Regions from separate parts of the Homo sapiens genome. Here all the other regions are linked to region 3. The links are contacts of gene promoters, found by promoter capture Hi-C in human tissues and cell types (Jung and others, 2019). All regions are on one chromosome and are shown on one strand. The core of a region is centred on a gene start or on the middle of the fragment in contact, and the rest is flanking DNA. Distances in the headings are between cores, read along the strand shown. Region 1 overlaps SHISA9 (shisa family member 9). Region 2 overlaps SHISA9 (shisa family member 9). Region 3 holds the start of SHISA9 (shisa family member 9).

The links. Contacts are between HindIII fragments. The study calls those that stand out against the background at their distance.
Region 1: a contact is called between a fragment that was not itself captured here and the fragment with the promoter of SHISA9 in region 3, in 5 of the 25 tissues and cell types used here (adrenal gland, dorsolateral prefrontal cortex, mesendoderm cells and 2 more).
Region 2: a contact is called between a fragment that was not itself captured here and the fragment with the promoter of SHISA9 in region 3, in 3 of the 25 tissues and cell types used here (H1 embryonic stem cells, dorsolateral prefrontal cortex and mesendoderm cells).

Annotation. Positions count from the first base shown.
Region 1 is chr16:13,055,663-13,060,078 of GRCh38, reverse strand. The region is part of intron 2 of SHISA9 (shisa family member 9); the gene reads right to left. Among named protein-coding and RNA genes, the nearest start is that of SHISA9, 160 kb to the right of the region's middle. The HindIII fragment of the contact is 3,069 bases long and covers 351-3,419 here.
Region 2 is chr16:13,039,921-13,044,638 of GRCh38, reverse strand. All of the region lies in intron 2 of SHISA9 (shisa family member 9), which reads right to left. Among named protein-coding and RNA genes, the nearest start is that of SHISA9, 140 kb to the right of the region's middle. The HindIII fragment of the contact is 5,855 bases long and covers 1-4,718 here.
Region 3 is chr16:12,898,994-12,903,749 of GRCh38, reverse strand. SHISA9 (shisa family member 9) reads right to left here and starts at 2,152. Exons shown (of 5, transcript NM_001145204.3): 1 at 1,123-2,152. The coding sequence starts at 1,685. The HindIII fragment of the contact is 6,671 bases long and covers 1-4,756 here.

The sequences.
Region 1 (4,416 bases), core at 636-3,135, 160 kb before region 3:
TGATCTCTCTGAATACTGGTTACCTCGCCTGTCAAATGGGGGTAATAATCAGAATTACTGCCTGTATTTGTTTGCTAGGGCTGTTAAGATAAAGAACCACAGACAGGATGGCTTAAATGACAGAAATCTATTGTCTCACGGTTCTGGAGTCGGAAAGTCTAAGATCAAGGTGTGGGCAGGGTGGGTCCCTTTGGAGGCCTCTCTCCTGGGCTTGTCAATGGCTGCCTTCTCCCTGTGTCTCTTCACATCACCTTTCCTTTGTCCAAACCTCCCCTTTTGTAAGAACATCAGTCATACTGGATTGGGGCTTACCCTAACGACCTCATTCTAACTTGAGGTCAGAATGTGGTTATATAATAATATCGGAATGTGATATTATTTGCAGATAGACTCTTCTTTTTATTTTAAGTTCAAGTTTACATGTGCAGGATGTGCAGGTTTGTTACATAGGTAAACGTGTGCCATGGTGGTTTGCTGTACCTATCAACCCATCACCTAGGTATGAAGACCCCCCGCATGTATTTGCTGTTTATCCTGATGCTCTCCCTCCCCACCTGAACCTTCTGACAGGCCCCAGTATGTGATGTCCCCCACCCACATGTCCACATGTTTACAGATAGACTCTGTACCTCTGTAAATAGTCTATCTGATAGGCCAGGTGCGGTGGCTCACGCCTGTAATCCCAGCACTTTGGGAGGCCGAGGTGGGCAGATCACGAGGTCAGGAGATTGAGACCATCCTGGCTAACACAGTGAAACTCCGTCTCTACTAAAAATACAAAAAATTAGCCAGGCATGGTGGCGGCCACCTGTACTCCCAGCTACTCGGGAGGCTGAGGCAAGAGAATGGCATGAACCCGGGAGGGGGAGCTTGCAATGAGCCGAGATCACGCCACTGCACTCCAGCCTGGGCGACAGAGTGAGACTCTGTCTCAAAAAAAAAAAAAAAAAAAAAAAAGATAGAGTTTTTACAGAGGCAAAGAATAATATCAAATAATATCACATTCAGAGGTACTGGGGGCCAAGGCTTTAACATAGGAGTTGGGGGAACACACCATTCAATTCCTAATTATTCTAAGAATGTCTTACTGGTTAATACAGAAAATGCATATGGAAACACCTTCCCAAATGTCCACCCCCCAAACCCACACTCATCACGTGTCTTGGCCAAATGGTCTAGAATTATGTACTTCCCCTTGCTGAGCTATTGGTTAGTTAGTGAGCAACGGTATTATGTGTGCTGGTCCTGCCTGGATCCCTAGCTATGGGAGACATCTCCCACCACACATACACATTCACACACACACACACACACACACACACACACAAATACACCACACCACTGGTCAATGACATGTAGCCATCATGGGGGATGGCAGCCCTGAACCTGTACAAAAGCTTTCAACTACCTCTCCTCGAAAGATGACACTTTTCCCTTACATTGGGCTTGGAGTGGAAGACTAGAAGAGAACTTTTGTGGCTCTAGGATTTTATTCTGAGCTCCACCCCTTCTCAGCATCACTGCTGTCTTCCTTTCCTCCCTAGGCCTCACTTTGCTCATCTGGAAAATAGGAATAATGGTAAGTCATGGTAGTTGTGGGAGTAAATGAAGGAAGTAGTGTAAAGAGCCTCATGGCTCAGGGATGGCCGTAGCAGTTACTTGTCAACATGAGTCCCCCTTGTTATAATCACCAGGGAGGCCCTGAGTAATAAGAGGGCACAGAGCAGTAGGTACCCTGGGTCCCAATTTCAGCCAATGCTAAGAATCACCCCTTCCCCATAGAGGCACATTCTGTAACTCTAGAACTAGTCCTGGGAACCTGCATTTTTAACAAGCTCTCAGGTATTGTATGACCAGGCAATAAGCAAGCCAAATTGTTATTCACTCAATCACTGGAAAAGCATCTTTTTAAAAAAAAGTTCATATGCCTGGGCTTTGTCCCACCCCAGCCCTATTGCATCAGAATCTCTAGGGAGCAAGATTGGCATGCTTGTATGTGGAAACTGCTCTCCATCCATTTCTGAGGTGCACTGTTGATTAAGAATCACTTATTTAACATATTCACCATGGAATATTATACAGCCATAAAAAGGAACGAGATCATGTCCTTTGCAGGAGCATGGATGGAGCTTGAAGCCATTATCCTCAGCAAACTAACACAGGAACAGACAACTAAACACTGGATGTTCTCATTCATAAGTGGGAGCTGAACAATGAGAACACATGGACACAGGGAGGGGAATATCACACAATGGGGCCTGTGGTGGTAGGGAGGAGAGAGCATCAGGATAAAAAGTTAAGGCATGCAGGGCTTCATACCTAGGTAATGGGTTGATAGGTGCAGCAAACCACCATGGCACACGTTTACCTATGTAACAAACCTGCACATTCTGCACATGTATCGCAGAACTTAAATAAAATTAAATTAAAAATAAAAAAGTATCACTTATTTAGAGCAAGCAGTTCTCAAACTATGGTATGCATCAGATCCCTTCGGGAGTGTATTTAAAATGCTGAGTCCTGGGCTCTTACTCCCCAAAATCTGATTTGATGGATCTATGGTGAAGCCCAAGAATCTACATTTTAATAAACCTCCCTGGAGATTGCAGTGAGCCAAGATCGCCCCATTGCACTCCAGCCTGGACTATAAGAGCAAAACTCTGTCAATAAATAAATAAATAAACCCCCCAGGCAATTAGGATACGGTGAATCCGACACTCCCTACTTTGAAAACATTCCCTTCTAAGCTTGTTGGATCCTAAGGAGGAACAGAGCACCTGCCTTCCATAAATGAGAGTCCCATCCCATCCATCCAGGGCTGTCTTGTGAAAGGCAAGCCTAGCTCAAATCCATGAACGTTCTATTGTTCGGCTCCCTGGAGGCTGCCACAGCTGGAGGACTGGCCCTCTGAGCCTCACCTGGGTACAACCCTCCAGCCCCAGGCAGGAAGGGCATTACATGCTCAGCAGCCCCCTCTGCTAGCGGGCCTATAGCACCGAGGCCCATTCCTTTAGCTTCCAGTTTGTATTTTCCTTTTGCAATATGCTTTCTGGATCGGGGGCGCCCCATACTCCCCTTTGCTAGCCTCACAGCTAACATACCACAGAGCCTGTGTTCAATCCAAACCTACACACCTGCCAGATTCACTATCTCCCTAAGCCCCGCTGTGTCTACTTTCTCTCACTTCCTCCTGCTAACAGCGAGGTGTTAACCAATCCTGAGAATGAACGCTTCGTGGCATGAATTCAAGTACCCTTTTCCCACCCTAATAAGCTAATGCCTATGTAGCACTCACTGACTGCTGTGTTTGGCAGTCCTTTTAAGCACTCTGCATACATTGACTCACTGAACCCTGACCACAACACTGTGAAGCGGAAGGCAAGTTTTATGGGAAAGGAAACTGAGGTACAGACAGGTGAGGTGACTTAGCTAAGACCACACAGCTCCTAAGGAGCAGGCCCTGAGTCTGAACTCAGACAATCTGGCCCAGAGTCATGCTATTTATTACCCAATAAATCCTTCCAACCCATAACTGATATTATTCTAGTCTTCCCTTCAGTGTATGTGTCCCTCCCCATACCTAACACTGGTCTACATGTCTGACCTGATGTCTGTAGGTGATTCCAACATAAAGAGATGGATCAACACAGATCTCATTGACCCAGGGAAGTGGATTTGAGGAGCAGGACTTTATCTCCTTGCCTTCAGGCCTCTATTGCATAATTTGACTTTTCCCTAGACAAACCATAGTTTGCCTCCACCCTGTAAAATGTAGCTCTTCTTCTACCAATGCCTCTTTGATTCAAGTATACACCCCCAGCACACTTCTGTCATTTAGTGCTGTGTCATGCATGCATGCTTCCTCTGTTCTCCTGCTGCCCTGGGATAAAGTGTTCAGAGTTGAGCCCATTTAAGCGCATGGCCCCTATATCCTATATATTAATTCAGCCAATATTTCCCAAGCACCTGCTATGTGTCAGGCCCTGAACTGTGCCCTCAGAGGTCCATGCTGGGTCTCTGCCCTCCTACAGTTCACAGTCCACATGACAGAGGCGGATCTGCCACCCACTGTGCATACTTGCGTCCCAAGCTTCATGAAAACCACATGTGTGACATCAGCAACAGTCTGTGCATCTAGCTGGCAACTTCCCTGTGGGCATCACTCAGCAAAGGCTTGTTGGACTTACTGGCTGTTAGCAAGGCAAGTTGGTAATTTGTTCCATCACTCTCACCTAAGCACGAGATTTCTTAAAAAACAATACATCTCGGTTGAGTAATGAGTTAAGGGAATATCAGCTTTGCTGCATCCTCAGTAATTCTGATGACTTCTCTGTTGCCCTAGAATGCATTTTAGTGTTTCCCTGGGTGGCACACAGCCTCCAGAGTGCTATGAGGGAAGAGGGTGAGTGGGCATGG
Region 2 (4,718 bases), core at 1,553-4,052, 140 kb before region 3:
TCTGTCCTTACTAACCATCAGGTCTGAGCCCCACGGTGCTTCCTCAAACAAACCTTCTGTTGAAGATTCTTTTTGCATGGTAACCACAGACCTAATTTATAAAGCCATTGGATCTGTGCCCACTAATCTGTAAGATCTATGTCCATTTCATTCACTCCCCTATGGCCAACACTTATTAGGCACTCAATAAAACATTTGTCTTGTAAAAACAATCATTTTATGGATGAGAAACCGAGGTTCAGAAAGGTTCAATAACTTGCCCAAGGTCAGAGAACAAGTAAGTGGCGGGGCTGGAACCCAAACTGATGTCTTTCTAAATCCAAGTCCTTCCTACCACAGAGGAATTTGGTGCAAAAGTAATCACAGTTTTTGCCATTCATGTATTGGGAAAATTATTTTTGCACCAACCTGATATCTGTAAGTGCCACGTGGATTCTACATTTGCGTGTCTGAAATGGGGGAACCCAATTAGACCTCCTTTAGGACCCCTTCCCTAGAGGATTTTCAGATTTGACCTCATGAAACAGACCACAGGTTGAGTCTTCAAAATCCCATAAGCCAGTTTCAAACTCTAGCCAGAGGCTTCTTTTCTAACTGGGGGACCACAAACAGGCTAAGTTTCTTTGGCCAGGCTAAGTTCTGGAAAGTGATACAAAGAGAAATAAAATATTATTCCAGCCTAGGATGAAGCAATATAGATAATCAAGTAAGGACAAGGAGAAGCATAATAAAGTGAAGCAGAGAAGTGAGCCATGGTTACAGGACCCCAGAAGGACAACGAATAGATCCACTGGGAGAGATGGCAGGGGATATCCAGGAGAGAGGAATTTCAGGCTGAGCTCTGAAGGATCAGTCAGTAAAATGTCAATAAATCTAAGCTATTAAGGCATTCTAGGCAAAGAGAACAGCAGAAGACCTGAAGTGTAAAGTGCATGGCTCTGGACTACTGAGCATCAGATCAAGGAGGGATGCAGCTCTGAGGATATCAGGACAGTGAGTTCAAGCTGTGGGAGGTTAAGGAGTTCCCACCGCAGGAGTAGAGATGACAACTTTGGGTCTTCATATTAGGTTAGTGCAAAAGTAATTGTGGTTTTTGCAATTAATATAACGTGTTTTGCATTAAATGTCATGGCAAAAACTGCAATTACTTTTGCACCAACCTGATAGAAACAGGAGAATTTAAAAATCCAATTCAGGAATCATAGAGAAACCACAAATACCCTCCCGTGGTGGGAAGTAGCTAGCTGTTTACTAAGCCCGTTTCTCTTTCCTCCTGGGTGTTCAGCTAGACAATATTTCCCAGACTCCCTTGCAGTTAGGTGTGGCCATATGACTGAGTTCTGCCCAGCAGAATATGGATGGAACTGATATATCCACTTCCGGGACAGGCCTGTTGAGACCTCCCACGGGATATGCCACTCCTCTGACCTCACCATTCCCCCCACCACTTACTGGTTAGATGTTGACACTCAGGTCAATGTTGAAAGCCACATGATAAAGTTGGAAGTTCCTCCATCATCCTGGGTCCTTGAGTGACTGCATGGAGCAGAGCATCCCATGTCTACCTCTACCCTCCAACTGCTGTCCAGGCACCCCGAATTGAACTTTATGTGAATGCAAAATTCATTTCTTTAGTATTAAGCCCCTGAAACTCCAGGGTTTATCTGTTCTAGAAGCCAGCATTACCTTAACTAATATGCCCCTTGAATTAGTTTATTCTATAAATATTCTTTGAGCCTCTACCGTGTGCCAGGGATGCTTCTAGGCATTAGTGATACAGTGGCAGCCAAGGAAAAGGTTTCTGCTCTTATGTAACTTTAGTGGGAGGAGACCGACAATAAACAAGTAAACAAATAAGATAGTTTTTGCCAGTGATAGAGCTAAAAAGGAAACTTAAAAAGATGGTGTGACTAGAGAATAGGGGGAAGGGCACATATCTTAATTAGGGCAATCATTTCCCTCAGACTCTTATCTGAAATACAAAACTTCATTTTAGTACCCACAAACATTCTAGACACCAAAGGACCAGAAAATCATCACAAAGGGGGCACTCTTGAGATCACTTCTATTAAAAAATTAGACACTCAATTCAGAGGAAACCAACTGTTCTTGGCTTGGGAAGACTTTGATGAGAACAACTGAGGCATTCATTTGTTGAGAGCCTGGTAAAATACTTACAAAGAGTGTCTCTGTTTGGGAAGCCTGGGTCAGCTATATTTTGTCCCATCCAATGCTACTGCATTTTCCATTCATTGCAGCCAAGCAAATTGGCCAATAATCCTACACACTAGCTCCTGAAGGTACAAATTCTGTCAATGAGCAGAAAGAAGCCACAAGCATGGTTTCAGTCTTTTACTGAGGGGCAGGTAACGAGTGCCTTCTGGAAGCTAATCAACATGAACACACAGTTCCTGGCTGAGGTAAAGGTAGCGACCAGTGCAAGATTCCCAGTGTCCTTGTGGCCACTGTGTTTTGCAGACTGTCTACCCAACAGATCAGGGAACAGCTTGGCAATAATCCCAGTTATTACAATACAGAACTGCCTCCATAGTTGTTGGTAATTGCCACTGCCCTGAGAACACTAAATATCCCCCTGATTAGCCAGCTGCTACAATCCCTCCTCAAAATCCCCTTTGCCTCTCACAATCCAGAAACCAAAAAGTCAAAGCCGGGTATTAGGCAAGAGGGAGAGGGGGAGCCCCAAGACTTTGATGATTCGATGGTACTCATATGTGCTAAATATTCTTCTTATTACCCCTGGAGCTACATCAGAATCCCCAGGGAGTTTATTAGAATTGCAGATTCCTGAGTCCCACCAGAGACCTACTAAATTGGAATCCATGGCAGTGAGGTCCTGGAATTGGTATTTTATCAGCCTTCCCCAGTGAGCCTCATGTACCCTACAGTTTGAGAACTGCTGGCCCAGGCACGGCTCTGGCATTTTGCTAAATGGAGGGTGAGCTCATTTGTGCATGCAGCTCATCAGATTAGTGGTTTTGAAACTTGATCAGAATGCTTTCTTAAAATCAACTCTTCCTCAGGATTTCAAAACACAAAATAAATCAGAGGGTAGCTACATATAGCCCCTTGTTTGCAAGTCCAACTTGAGTGGCTGGTAGGAATAGAAAGCAGTCTACAGAAGCCATATCAGGGGATACGTGGCTCCAACAGGGAATAGAACAGCCAAAGAGAGGACAAAGGTTTGCACTGGAGGAAGAAGCAGGCTGTTACAAAGCCCTGATGAATGGCAGAGCAGACAGTCAGGGATAGGCCAAGCCCAGGGTAGAGACAACAGCAGGAGTCCTAAGCCTGGGTCAGCCATTATGAAAACTAGAGCCCAAGGCACAAAGAGAGATCAGGTTGTTCAAGTAAGCAGTCTCCATTTTCCCAGAGAGAAAACATTGAGGAAACAAAATTTATTTGTGGGGGCCTGCACTCCTTCTGTGGACCATTAAGCTGCTCTGATAAAATACCATTTTGAACACAACACATCCAGCTCTGAGATGTTGGGAGGCGAAGGTTCATGCATTTTGTTCAGTGCTGCACCCCTGGTACTTAGCCCAGGATCTGCAAAGGCTCAGCCCCCAACGACACAGTACTTGTTAAATGAATGAATGGATGAAGGGCTTTGTGTCTACTGCAGGAACCCTCTGAAGCAGAAGCACACGTTTCCAGGTTGGGGGTCACTTGGGTGAGACTCAGGACCCCACACTTGCTCTCCATTCTGAGAGCCACCAAAGTCAGGCTGGTCCTAGAAAAAGGCTTGCAAAGCTCAACAGGGCAACTTAAAACAAACAATGTTTTCTTAGAACTCTCTACAAACCAGGTGTATTATTCACTTGCACCAAAAATCTACACCTAAGGGCCCTCAGACCTTAGCAGGATAGGAAGAAAGAAAAGAAGCTTTTCTTTACCAAATGACTCTTCAATATTTTTCAATTTCAAAATTCTACTGGGGCATTGTATGCATTAAGCACTGCACTAAACACTGGTGATAGAGCAAGGGGGAAAAGTAGATGAGATCCCTGCTCTCTTGAAGTTTACATTCTAATAAGCAAGTCAGGCCATAAACATGAAAACATGCAAATGAGTGAGATCATTTGGAATGTAATCAATGCTATGAGAATAAATTAAACAGAGAAATGCAAAAGAAAGAGACTGGCAGGGCAGAAAGCTTTTTAGAAAAGGAGGCCATTTGTAGAAGTGGCATTTGAGCTGAAATCTGAATTACAAGAAGAGGGTCATGCAAACATCAGAGGGCATAACACACCCAGCAGTGGTAACAGCCAGTGCAAAGGCCCTGGGGTAGAGAGAAGCACCATGTGTTTAAGGAATAGAAAGCCAACCAATGTGACTGGAACTGGGTAGTCAAGGCAAAAGGAGGGATAGAAGAGCAGGAGCAAGAAGCAGAGATCAGATCAAGCACACTTCTCAGGGCACAGAGAGGAGTTTGCAGGTGGATGGTTTGAGTGGAGTGGTAACATGATGTGATTTGGTTTTAAATGACAATTCTGGCTCTCGTGTAGAGAATGGACTGGAGAAAGGAGCAAGAGAGAAATCAGGGAAATCTGGGAGGAGGCCTTGACTTGGACCAAGAGGAAATGACCTTGACTTGGACCAAGATGGTGCCAGAAAGTGTAAGAAATGTGGATATATTAAGTGGGTGGAGTTGGCAGGACTCAGGGGAGAGAGGAATCAAGCATGCCAGCCACCACTGT
Region 3 (4,756 bases), core at 903-3,402:
AATACAGCGACTTCGTTGCCCAGACTCTGAAAGGGGACAGTTAAAGCTTATGCCCCAACCATCCAGCTGTTCGCAGGCCGCTAGTCACTCCTTCCACCCCGCCCGCCCGGACCTCACGCCAACCCCCAGCCTCTCCCGCGGCCGGGGGCTTAGTGCTCCTAGTGGCTGCGTCCTCCGCCTCCAAAGTTACGGAGTTTGCGAATCGATTTAGACACTTAAAATAAAAAAAATTTAAAAAAAGCAAAAGGCAAATAGCTCCATTAATCCCCCAAAGCCTTCTCCCATCTGCTGGAACTAGCTGGTGCTGGGGCTTGCATAATGAACAAGGCAAACCCGAAAGTTGACGAAATCAGGGTGCTTGGAAGTGAGGGCGCGCGAGGAGGGGGCTCGGGCCCCCGGAGTCCACGCCAGCCAGGGCAAGGGGCTCAATCTGCAGCGATGGCCACGGCCCCGGGCAGGGAGAAGTGGTGGCCAGAGAAAGGGATGAGGTGGGTAAAGGGGCGGGGGCAGCTGAGGTCCCAAATCCAGGGACGGCGAAGCTCTGGGAAAGCGAGGCGGCCGCTCCAAGCAAGGCTTTTGTTCTCGCCCTCCCCTCACTCCACCTCCCTCGTCTCCTTTTCGCGAGTCGTACGAGTTGCAGGCGGCACTCACTCTGACCCTCCCTCCTTCACACACGCGCGCTCGGGCTCACACACGCCCCCCTCCCCTTTCGGGCTCGCCTGCCCCTGTTTACCAAAAAGCTAGCACCTGGAATCCGAGGGGTGCCATGGACCCTCTCCCCAAACCCGAAGATTTCGGGGCCACGGGCTCCCAGGCTACGTGTCTCAAGTCCGCCTCAGTCACCAGCGGGAGGAGGCGGCCAGAGGGTGAGGGAGCAGAGTCACACACACACACACACACGCTCACACACACACGAACACGCTCAGACCCACACCTGTGCTGAGCCCAGCGCCCCTTCTCCGTGTTCCAAGCCGAAGTTGGCTTCCCGGTGACATCCCCCAGCGGAGAGGCTGGGATGCGGGGAGCGGGGACCGTGGGGAGCGCCATTGCCTGGGGGAAGGTGGGGAGGAGAGAGCAGGGAGAGCGAAGCCCCGAGGGGAGGGCGAAGGGGAGGCAGCCCACCTGGACATGTGCTCCCTTTGGGGCCGGTGCGCTTTCTCCAGCCCCAGCTTGGTGAAGATGCCCACGAGCACCATGACGGCCACCACCCCGCAGATGATGTAGACGATCAGGTTGGTCTTGTCCTTGGTGGGGTCGTGCAAGGGGTCGTCCTTGCGGGCGGGGGGCTTGCCGGTGTTGAGCCAGAGCGGCGTGTCGTAGTTGGTGCAGGTGCTTTGGTTCAGTCGCCGCTTCTTAAACGTGCAGCAGAACCGGAAGCCACAAGTCCCGCAGCAGAAGATGAAGTCGCCCGAGCTGCAGTTGAACGGCGGGTCCCACTGGCCCATGACATCGAAGTAGCCCCGGCAGAAGTCCGGCGTGGGCGCCCGGGTCGGGGGCGCGTCCGATGCCTCAGCGCCCTCGCTGGCCTCTCCGGAGGCGGCCCCGGAGCGGTTGCCCCCCGCCAGCAGCAACACGCCGCCCAGTTGCGCCAGCTGCCCGTGTCCCGCTCGCTCCTGCGCCCGGCACACGCGGGCGCACAGCTCGGTGAGGAAGCAACCGAGGAGCAGCCGAAGGACGCGGCGCATGGTGTCTCCCAGCCCGGGCTCGGCCGCTCGGCCGCCGCTGGAGCCTCTGCGGCCGCCTCTCGAGGCGCGGCCGAAGCTGCCGAGGCTGCTGCCGGGAGCTGCGAGCCGCCGCGGGCCGCACATGCAGGGAGCGGCGCGGGGCGCTCGGTGGTCGGCGGCCACTGCGCTCGGCTCAGCCCGCGTTCGCCTCAGCCCGCGTTCGCCTCCAGCGCGCCGCGCGCCGAGGGGCCGGCCGGGGAGGAGCGCGCCCGGCCGGGCGGGGGGAGGATGAGCGGGGTCAAGCGCGGGGTGCAGGTCCGGCCGGCCACTGGGTGAGGCGGGGGTGGAGAGCAGAGGAGAATCGGGCTGGCAGCGCCTAGCCTTGGCCGGCAGCCCCGGACTGGCCGCCCCTAGCCCTCTCGCAGTATCCCTCTCACCTCACCAGCTCGCCAAGTGCGCTGAAGAGAGCGAAGCGACACTTGTGGAATGAAGGGAGGGCAGGAGGGAAGGGGGAGGGGGAGGAGGGCGGGCAGAGGAGGCGCGGGTGGGGGGGGGCGGGCGCGAGCTCTAGAGGGGCGGGGGCGCGGGGAAGAGGTGACTAGAGCGGGAGCTAGCTGGGGGGCGTGCAGAGCTGAGCCAGGCGAGCGGACGGGGAGGAGCGAGCTCGGCAGCAGCCGAGGCTAGAGGAGCCGCTCGGATTTCCAGGCAGGTGGAAAACCGCGGCAGGACCTCCCGCGCCCTCTCTGGGTAGGAGGCGCGGCTCAGCCCTGTCCAGAGCGCAGAGGCGGCTCAGCTCGTAGCTTTTTCACCGGTGCGTGTGCAGGAGCGGCGGCCGAAATCTGTGCATCAGGGGAAGGATGACTCGGAGAGGATGGGGACAGACTAAATGGCTTTCACTCCAAGACAGACTGGGTGCAGTCTGGTCAGGATCGCCCCTCCCAGGCGTGCGGGGCCTCCTTGCCCTTCCCGGCTGCGCCCTCCAGCCCTGAGCGCAACCCGCATGGCTCAACTCTCTGGGCCCAAGCAAGGACCCAGGCGGAGCTGGGAAGGACAGGTGGCAAGCCCCTGAGCCAGGGATAAGCACCCTCCGGGGGAGAGGGGCTCGGGATGAACGAATCAAAGAAGGTCGGGGGTAAGAGGGGACAGCCGAACAAGGCCGAGGCTATGGCGTGTCCTGGAAGGTCTTTCCTTGGAAGTCCCCCAGCCTCTCGAACCTGCCGCTTTCTGTCCCTCTTCGCCCCCGCAGCGTTTTCTGCGCTCCACAGGAGGGAACACCGCGGCGCCGCCTCTGCGCTCCCGGATCTGGCGCAGCGCAAGGCCTGGGCACCCAGCCTCAGCCACCCTCCCGGACCTGGAGCCCGCGCATCGGTCTCTGGAGCTGGCTGGCCCCTGTCCCCACGGATCCCCCCGGAAATCCTCACCGGGGGCTGCAGAGCTCTGCCTTGCTTCCTCAGCTTCCAGCCTCCCGTCTCCTCTGTGTTTCCAAATCTGCCCTCTCTCTCCTAGCGAATTCCAGCTCCCCGGAGGCCCTCTCTCATTTCTCCCACCTCTTTCTCTCCTCTGCTTGAATTTGACTCCAGTAGCCCCAAAACAGGATTTGCACCAAAGCTGCTACACCAAATTTAGATCTCCCCACGCCCCGGCGTTTTGTTTTTTAATTGCATTAACTAAGTATACACTTTGCAGGCTGCTAGGCGATTTGCAAGGAGATAATGTTTCCACAACCCTCCTCTCCACTTGGCTGCAGTCAAGGGCTTCTCAGGGCATCTTCAGAGAACGAAAAGTTGGGCGACATGTAAAATGGTTTACTAGGGTCCCCTGAATTGAGAAAGGGTGGGAGGATTTATTGGGACTCTGTTGCAAGTTTTCTCCAAATGAGAAGTTTGGCTAATCGCCCCTTCTCTTTGAAAAAAAAAGTCACATTTTGATGTTTCAAAAAAGATTTGCAAACACACAGCAAGACATTGACAGGGCATACCCAGGAGTATTATATTCCAAACCCATCTGGGGAAGGTATGAACACGTTTAATCCAGATTCACCAGATTCATTATAATAGAATCCCCAAAATAGGAGAGTATGGAAAGTCTGTCATGACTGGCAACCCACGCCCACCACCACCTTGTGAGTCCTACAAACACAAGCACTGGTGTGTGAGAGCTAATGAGAGCTGACATTTATTCAGTGCCTGCAACATACTCACTAAGCTTGCTTTTTCTAAAAGCAGCTCCTCAAGAAAGCTTAGAGCAGTGCCCAGCGTATAGCAGACAGTCTGGAAATATTTGCTGAACCACCGAGTGACTGGTTTCATGTAACTCTCTCTCCCTTAGGTAATAGTACCAGGCCCACACAACAGAGGGAGAGAATGAGCCCCAAAGCAGTTAAACCAGTTGCCCAAGTAGCTCTGCCAAATGAGTGCCAGAATTGACATTTGACCCAAGAAATTTGAGTCCAGAAACTGCCCTCCAGCCACTACATGAAATAGGCCTCCAAACTTTCTGTCTACCTCCTACTATATTATGTATTTGCGTTTTCGTCTGTTTGCCTGCACTGAGATGTGAACTGTGTAATGGAGAGGGCCTCGACTCCCATACCATGTCCCCAGCCCCTAGAACCCAGGCATACGGAGCTGCCTTGCGGGTCCATGGCTGCGCCCTCCAGCCCTGTGCGCAACTCCAGGGATTTGAGCCTTTGGGGTTGTGCGGGGCTGCAGGGTGCAGCCCCGGGGTACAGTTCTAAGCATGGTAAACACTCAAAAAAATGCATGGGTTGTATTAATTAATTTATGCAAGACTCTGTCTTAAACCAAAAGAGGAAAGGAACACTTAGGGCATGGATGATGGAGTATCTGCTGTCATTATGTATATAAAGGGTGGGAGTTTTCTATATACTACATTGGAAATGGAAAGGGACCCTCCAGCGGGCTTCCTATGTTCCAGGAAGCTGTGGCTCAGAGGTTAAGACCTTTGTGGGAGATCACATGGACAGCAATGACCCCACCAGGGCTGGATTTAGACGCCCAACTCCTAACCCCGGCCTCTTCCTCCACTCTGTGTCCGACTCCACTTCAGCAGGTATTAGGGCAGAGTTTAAC